Regions from separate parts of the Homo sapiens genome. Here region 1 is linked to region 2. Evidence: promoter capture Hi-C in 16 types of primary human blood cells and fetal thymus (Javierre and others, 2016). All regions are on one chromosome and are shown on one strand. The core of a region is centred on a gene start or on the middle of the fragment in contact, and the rest is flanking DNA. Distances in the headings are between cores, read along the strand shown. Region 1 overlaps MMP8 (matrix metallopeptidase 8). Region 2 holds the start of TMEM123 (transmembrane protein 123).

Region 1 (4,212 bases), core at 1,529-4,028, 260 kb after region 2:
TACCTCACTCTTGCTTCCTGGGACTGTGTCCTGAAAATATAATTGCACCAATGTCTTGACTTAGGCTTTGCTTTTGAAGAATCTCAACCTAAGATAAACATGAATCTCATTGTTTAAATTCTAGCTTAGGCAGGGTGGCATGGTGGCTCAAGCCTGTAATCCCAGCGCTTTGGGAGGCCGAGGCAGGAGGATCACTTGAGCCCAGGAGTTTGAGACAAGCCTGGGAAATGTAGTGGGACCCCACCTTTACAAAAGAAAATAACTGAGTGTGGTGGTGTGTGCCTGTAGTCCCAAATACTTGAAAGGCTAAGGTGGGGCATTGCTTGAGGCCAGGGGTTTGAGGCTGCAGTGAGTTGTGATTGCACCACTGTACACCAGCCTGGGTGACAGAGCAAGACCCTGTCTCAAAAATAAATAAATAAACAAAAAATAAATAAATGCATTCTAAGCTTAGGTCTTTATATCTCTTGTGCCCATTCAAAATATCAATGTAATAGCTGGAAAATACTACATGTTGTCAACAAGATAATTTTTTTAAAAGGAATAACTCTGAATTCTTTATTACACTTCATATTACAGTTTACTGTCTATGACTCTGTCAAATGTGGTTAAAAAATAGTATGAGATCAGTCCTCATCTCAAAGATGTATAGATGAGGTTTGAGCCAAGAGTCTATCATAGCCAGCACAACTAGCAGGTGTTCTGAGAAGATAAGACACTCATTTTCATGCCTGCATTTTCCTAAAACTTTCATAACTGGCATTATAGAAAGTTTTAGGAAACATGATAGTCTGAAATTGATGCTACTATTAAAAATGGAATATTCAATTCTTATAGATCCTTTTGCATTTGTTACGTTGATATGATGAATCGCTTATACATCTCTCTCACTTTTCTTAGCACAGTCCCTGAAACATAATTAATAGTAGGTAGGTAGTTAATTCTTGCTGAATAAATCAATGAATGGAATGATAATATATACTTGTTTCAGTTTTCTTATTTTGTAAAATAATTTGAGAATAATGTATTAACATACTTGAGGAAATTTTTGAGGACCTCAAATATTTATAAAATATTTCACACACTCTGAAGCAATATCTAAAGTTTATTATCAATATTATAATAATTCTGACACAAGCATTATATATCTGCACAACATCTAAAATTTGCTATTCCTTTTTATACTTTAGATGAATTATGTGGTAACATTTTAAGAAATTAAAAGCAAATCACAAATCAGTCATTTGAAGTAAAAATCTTTAATTTGAACTTATTTAATAGATTATTTTAATTTTTGAACAAGCATAAAGGTGCCAATTTAATTATCTGTGGGATTTAAAAACTTCAACAGAGAAAGAAAATAGGAGGTACTAGTGAGAAATATATTTTACAGTCTACATATTTATTGTATAATAAGCTATATTATATTCTAATAACAGCAAATATAACATTATAATGATTTTGATATCTGGACTCGCTAGACTTGGTCCCATAAATCCTATAGTTCTTAACAAAAAAACCCATCCGTTAGCAAACTTACACATCTAAGCTCAGTTTAATGCAACTTAATGAGACATTGAATTTTATGCAGCTAACCCAAGTTATCTATAGTGTGTGCCCTCCTGAGTACCCCAGGAAATAGAAGTAAAGAACTGACGAACATCAGATCCAACTGGCCCATTTGGGTTTGGACTCTAGGAGAGAGCAAGGAGGAGGCAGGAGAGGAAGTGGTGGTTCTCTTTTGGCTGCTGTCCTGGGAAGATGCCCAGTAGTCCTTAGCAAGGGTTCTACTTCTGCATTCTGTGTTGATTCATTTTCATATGTGTAGATGTACTGTGTCTAGTACCTCATGTCTAGGGTTGCTGTAACAAAGTATTGCAAAGTTGGTGGCTTAAAACAAAGGAAATTTATTCCCTCACGGTTTTGGAGGATAGAAGTCCGAATTCTGCAGGTGTCAGCAGGGTCACACTTGAAGGCTATTGGAGGGAATCCTTCCTTGCCTCTTCAAAGCTTCTACTGGTGGCTTACAGTCCTTGGAATTCCTTGGCTTGGAGATGCGTCACTCCAATCTCTGCCTCTGTCTTCATACGGCCTCCTCCCCTAGGTGACTATGCCTCTCTTCTTCTTATAAGAACAACAGTCATAATGGATTTAGAGCCCACCCTAATTCAGTGTGATCTCACCTTAACTTAACTAATTACATCTGCAAAGACCCTGGTAAGCTCACATTCATGGGTACCTGGGGTTAGAACTTCAACATATCTTTTATGGGGGACACAATTCAACCCACGAAACATATCATCTACATTTCTTTCCAAGGGTAGAAAACAGCACCATATTTTCTGTAAAGGCCAAGGGTACTGTCTAGGTTGTTTATAATCCTTACTTCTAACCAAAATCTAGTTCTAAATTGCATGTAGAAGATATACATAGGACATTTTAAGAAACTGAGGGATGTATGAAGTCAGATAGGCAAGTAATATAACAATAAATCCTAGAAGTCAGATATGTAAGTATTGAAATAGTAAATATTGAGGTGACAAAAAGGCTTACTTTCCTTCTCTTTGATGGAATCACTAATGTAAGATGGAATGTGTAAGAACTGAATAAGCCTCTGCAAATAGTGGAATATTCCAAACATATTTTCACGGAGGACAGGTAGAATGGATACAGTGATGGGAAACAATGACTTAATATTGAGAAAAGTATAAGCAGGACACAATGTAACGAAAATGCTTGCTGAACTTCCCTTCAACATTCTGAAAGTGGATACAGCCACATTTGATTTTGCTTCAGCCATATCTACAGTTAAGCCATTTATTGCCTCTTGCAACTCTGGTAACTCTCTGAGCAATAAGATCAAATGCGTAATATCTTGGTCCACTGAAGACATGGAAGAAATCTATAAAAAAAGAGAGATAATTTATTGAATTAGCTTATAGAATATCTCAGATGTCTTCAGTTAGAAAACCCTGCCCCTGTTCCAACATAACATTCAAATGCAAACATGCTATTTAAAAAATTTAAACACCAGGTGCGGTGGCTAATGCCTGTAATCCCAGAACTCTGGGAGGCTGAGGTGGGAGGATTGCTTGAGGCCAGGAGTTTGACACTAACCTGGTCAGCATAGTAAGACCCTGTCTCCTCTATAATAAACAAACAAACAACACATTTATTAGGTTTTTTTTTCCTACTTACGTTCTTGCTGGAAAACTGCATCAACTTTACTCTCTATTCCTGGAAAGGCACCTGATATGCTTTTGGGATAACCTGGCTCCATGAATTGTCTTTGGTTATCATATCTGGTAAAAACAAAATGTTATCCGATTTAACACCAATACAGAATATAACGAAAAAAATTTTTTTTATTGTATATAATTTACAAAGTCTCCTCACACATATTTTTTCATTCAGTTCTCACAATGCCCTGTTTACTAGGATTAAGAATGGTTAATTTCTCTACCTAAGGGTACACATTTATAAAACATATGGTTATCATTAATTCTAAAACAGGCTTGATGGCTGACACACTGTTATTACCCAAAGTAAGCTTATATTTTCAAGGCTTTTACTTAATTGGTATATAGTATAACTCCCTTGTGTGTGTATATAGATATATAAACATACATAATAGGTTCAACTTGGGAACCAAATTCTGCAGGCTATCTGGATAACATTTGCTTGCATATGTCTGAGTTGAACTCATAAGTGAGAATTAGCTTAAATCTTTCTTTGTATCTCACCCTAGTGCTTTGTTAAGGTTTTCTTTGTTTCTTGATGCAGAATCCTCAATACTATTGCATAGACATTTTAATTTTATAGAAATGAAAAATTTCAAAAGCCATGGTAACATCAATCATCCTGTAAAAAAGAATATATTCTCGGTAAAACCTATTAGAGACTATCTAGATTGTTTTAAACCTTGAAATGCTTGAAGGTTTGTAAGCAGGGTAGAGAAACACAGATTTCAACCTATAATTGAAAAAATAGTTTACGTTACCTCCAGAATTGGTCATTTACAAAGAAGTATGTTTTACTTCTGTAGAAAACAGCTGCGTCAATTGCTTGGACGCTGCTGGGGAAGCCATAGTTTGATATATCCTTGGGATAACCTTGCAGAATATCATAGCCACTCAGAGCCCAGTATTGGTTGCCTGTCAATGATTCAGGTTAAGTGTTAAATACGACTTTTCCATTTTTACAAAATTATAT
Region 2 (4,006 bases), core at 1,404-3,903:
CCCCATAGATCTAGAATCCACCCTTTTATCTCCATTGCCACTCACCATCATCTTTTGGCTGGGCTAACACAACAGCCTGTTTTTGTTTCCCTGCTATTGTCGCTCTTAACGCGATGATTTCTTAATTTCTTGGCGACTTATTTGAACACTTGAATACAGCCATTTTCAAGCCACCTCAATCCTTGCACTTTTCAGTTACAAGTCAAAAAAGTCCCTTCTTTCCACAGTTGTTCAAGGTGGGTTTCTGTCACTTGCCACTAAGAGTAATGACTAACAGCCGCCCCTCCCATCCTGTTAATGTTAATGTCATTCATTGGAATACTACAATAAATCCTGTTTGCTGATTTGCAAACTTGCTCATAGTCTCCCTCCTCCTTCAACTGATATTTATAAAGCTATGCAGCTGACTGTGAAGAATATTTTAAAAGCAGAATTTCAATAATGTTTTTATCTTCTCCCACAATATTCTAGGCAATGGTAATACTGTGGAATAAAAGTATTATCTACTTCAAGAGCCATCATCATCTAACGCGGCTTAGTGGTGAAATGGTTAATTGAAAATTTGGATTTTGATCTGAAACCAAACATGTATTAATTGTTTTACTTGCCATAAATTAGCTTACTTATCTATAAAATGGGGACGATACTGTGAGGATTCAATGGGATGATTTATGGACCTAAATTAGCATAGCGTGGGATGCACAGAATATGTACCCAGTAAAAATCAGCCATTAAGAGTTTTAGTATGATGGCTAAAAATCACTATACTTCGTAATGACATTGTATACAGATTACACTATACATGAAGACTACGATTAACAGTTACTAGCTTTTTTGAGAAATCTTCTATTGTATACCTTTTAGTCTAGTTGCAAGGTGACATTATATAGTCTGTAGAAACAGATTCCACCTCTGGTTGGTTATACTAGTTTATGAATTCAGGGCTCGCCTACTGTAGAGCATTTCAAGTTTTGCAAATGGGACTAACCTCTAGTAAGACATTAAGTAATAAACAGAACAAACAGTGCTAAAATAGGGCAAAAAAAATCTGTGTTATCAGGGCAAAAGAAAGAAAAGCATGGTCACTCACAGTTTCTCTAATCGGTAATTCATTGAAACAGTAAGGCTTATCTTCACAAACACAGCAACAAATTTTTAAAAATGGAGACCTCACCTCATGAGATAATTGGTATAAAATTAGGACCAAGATACACGATGGACATGATTTTACCACTTTTTTTCTTAAATGATCTCAAAATTAGGTCTGCGAAGCCAGTTTGTCACACGCACAATTAAGCAAACAAAAAAACTTCAGCAAAACAAAGAAAAATTGTTAATTCACCCAGGTTATTCCAGAAAAAGCAAGTGTTGTGCCTGAACCTTCCAGATTTACAAACTGCCTTTTTCTTTTGCTGGATAAAACGAACCTAAGGCTAACATATACAGTGGATGGATAGAACTTAAAACCATGAAAACCTTGGGTTACTTAACTTATCCTAGTTTACTGACCATTACCTAGGGACCTGACTTCTCTAACAGTTGACAAAGGAAAACAGTATTTACACAACAAATCCCAACTTCCTGGTTTCATCCAAAAAGGGCTGTTTGAAGTCTCCAAAGGGCCAAGGGCCTAAAACGAAACAAATTCCGCCCTACACAGAAAAGCAAAGTCAACATCATCCTGTTACGACCTTACTAGCGACGACAAGGGCCACCGGCGACCGTGCAGCTGTGCCCTTAACGCTGCGCAGCTGCCGCGCGCCTCGGCCGGGTGTTTATGGCACACGAGGGGTGGAGAGCGCCCCGCCATGGGGGCGGCCGCCTCAACTACCGCGAGGGCGGGGCGCGCTCCCCAAAAGCTCCCAACTAGCTCCAAGAGCCCCGAAGTCTAACTTCGAGCGTCAGGGGGACCTAAAGATTGTAATTCATCTGGATAATACTGCATAATATTAGACGCTGAAATGCCTGGGGGACGCTTGAAAAGCTCCCCGACTAACTGGGAGACGTTTCCGCGGGCCTAGGTAGACATATTTTTCAACTCAGCTAATCTTGTTTACAAACGGAAGCCTTAGAAACTCTAACCTCGGCAAACATTAACTTCAGGGAAAGGCTGTAAAAACCAACTTGCGGTAACTCAACAGGTTATGCGCACCCGTCCCGGCCTGCGACCGCCGCATCCAAAAAGCGAGAGGGGAAGCACCAGGCAATTTCCTCAGCAGGCGGCCCCGGGGCCAGCGGGTGACTGGTCCAAACCTCAGTTTCCCCCACCCCGCCCGGTCACCTCTGGGTCCGCCCCGAGCGTTCGGCCAGACACACGCGGAACTTTCTGTACCAGAGCCCAACTTGGGAACCCAAGCCTCGGCAGCGCGCTGCCTCCCACGAACGGGGCTGACGACCCCCGCAGCCACTTACCCGCCATGGCTGCGCTTTCATGGGCGGCCCCCAGCAGCGCTAGCACCTGCAGCGTCCCCAGGAGCAGCGCGGCCCAAGCACCTCGCGCGCCGAGTCCCATTGTTCCGAGGGCAGGATGCGGCAGCCTCGTGGGCTCCCAGCCGAGGTGGCGGCGGCGAGAGCGGCTCCTCTGCGCAGCCGGCGCCGGCTCCGCTTCCCCTTCGGCCGCGCACGTTTCCCCTCCCGCCGCTTGCCCCCCGAATGACCAAATAGGGCGCAGGAGCGGGGCCTGGAGGGGGCGTCGCGTGCGCAGCCGGGGCGGCGGGGCCGGGCTGGGTGGCGCGGGGGCGGGCTCGGGGTTCTGGGCGTGGCGACTCGGCTCGCGGCCTCCCTCGCAGGCGCGCGCTTGGGAACCCCAGAAACCGCGAGCCGTTTCCTTTCTCTTCGGAAATGGCAGTTTTGTTGTCCTGGATGAAGGCGAGCGCCGCTGCCTCCCTGAATGCTGAGCACGCTGGCTTCGCGGTGCCCGGAAGGAAGCCTTTGAAGAGTAGTTTTGCGGGCAGGGAGGGGACAGGGGTGCGTGCGACTCAGAGTGAGAGGGAGGAGTTGCAGGGCAAAGGCGGGAGGAGGGGGAGATTCTGGAGAGGAACTTGAGGGGATGGGATTCACTCTAAGGAGTCCTGGGCGGTCGGAGCTTTCCCCTCGCGTGACCCAGCCTAAGGGGGAAGTGGAGAAAAACAGCTCGACAGATTTGTTGCTTAAATTCAAACGTAAAACACCTACGATCTTCTTATCCCAGTTGTACTTCATCTTCTCCACGGGTTCCCTGTATCTCTGATTAAGACACGAGATTAGTGGAGTGGGCGGGTGGGGGCGCGCGCAGGAGTTGGTAGCAACTCTCAGTGAAATACAGTAGAGCCATGGAAAGCGGGGGCTGCATTAATCCAACCAGCCTTTTCTCTCCTTGTGCCCTGCTGTCCCAGTTCAGATGAAATGGCCAGTTTTGAACAGTTTTTGGCTGAGTTCCTTTTAAACCCTTGGAGCCAATGCTAATCACTTGTCTTGACTTGAAGTGCTTGTAAAGTCTGCATTTTCATCGTGCTCAGAACTCTGAAGTGACATAGCTACCTGTGGCTAATGCATGAGAATAACAAAGGCTGAGTCCTGGCTTGGGTGGGAACCCTCAGCTGAAGTAGAAGACTGAAGGATCCAAGGAACCTAAAATCACAGTGAATCCCCACCTGCAAAGGTCTTAATGTTGCAGATCTTTGGCACCTGAGCCAGATTTCATCACATAAAGGCCACATTGCAGTTAACTTTTGAAAACTGTGTTATGAGAGGTAGAACTTTCTCATGTCAGGCAAATCCATCATTACAGAGGTCTGACTGGTCCTAGAGATTAACTGAGACAATCTGTCCTAAATTTACAGAGACTTCCATCTGTGGATTCAGTCAGCCAACCTGCAAATGTTTCCCCTGCAGCTTATCATGGACAAAAAGCAAGCATTGCACATTTCGATTTTGGTTATTCTATTTAACTGGGGAATCTGGTTTAGGAATAAACCGTTCTGGTGACTACCCCATTATCCAAGCATTTCCCAATCTAGGCCCAACC

Evidence for each region. The method cuts DNA at HindIII sites, captures the fragments that hold promoters and counts their contacts. A CHiCAGO score of 5 or more calls a contact.
Region 1: a contact is called between a fragment that was not itself captured here and the fragment with the promoter of TMEM123 in region 2, in 5 of 17 cell types (monocytes, M1 macrophages, M0 macrophages and 2 more). The highest score is 10.4, in monocytes.

What each region holds. Positions count from the first base shown.
Region 1 is chr11:102,710,556-102,714,767 of GRCh38, forward strand. It overlaps MMP8 (matrix metallopeptidase 8), which reads right to left. Exons shown (of 10, transcript NM_002424.3): 8 at 4,001-4,154; 9 at 3,199-3,302; 10 at 1,241-2,902. The coding sequence ends at 2,793. Among named protein-coding and RNA genes, the nearest start is that of MMP27, 6.9 kb to the left of the region's middle. The HindIII fragment of the contact is 1,540 bases long and covers 2,009-3,548 here.
Region 2 is chr11:102,450,112-102,454,117 of GRCh38, forward strand. It overlaps TMEM123 (transmembrane protein 123), which reads right to left and starts at 2,654. Exons shown (of 5, transcript NM_052932.3): 1 at 2,413-2,654. The coding sequence starts at 2,512. It overlaps TMEM123-DT (TMEM123 divergent transcript), which reads left to right and starts at 2,808. Exons shown (of 2, transcript NR_135053.1): 1 at 2,808-2,938. RefSeq lists enhancers at 1,658-1,707, 1,888-2,177, 2,908-3,017 and a silencer at 2,498-2,787. The HindIII fragment of the contact is 13,483 bases long and covers 1-4,006 here.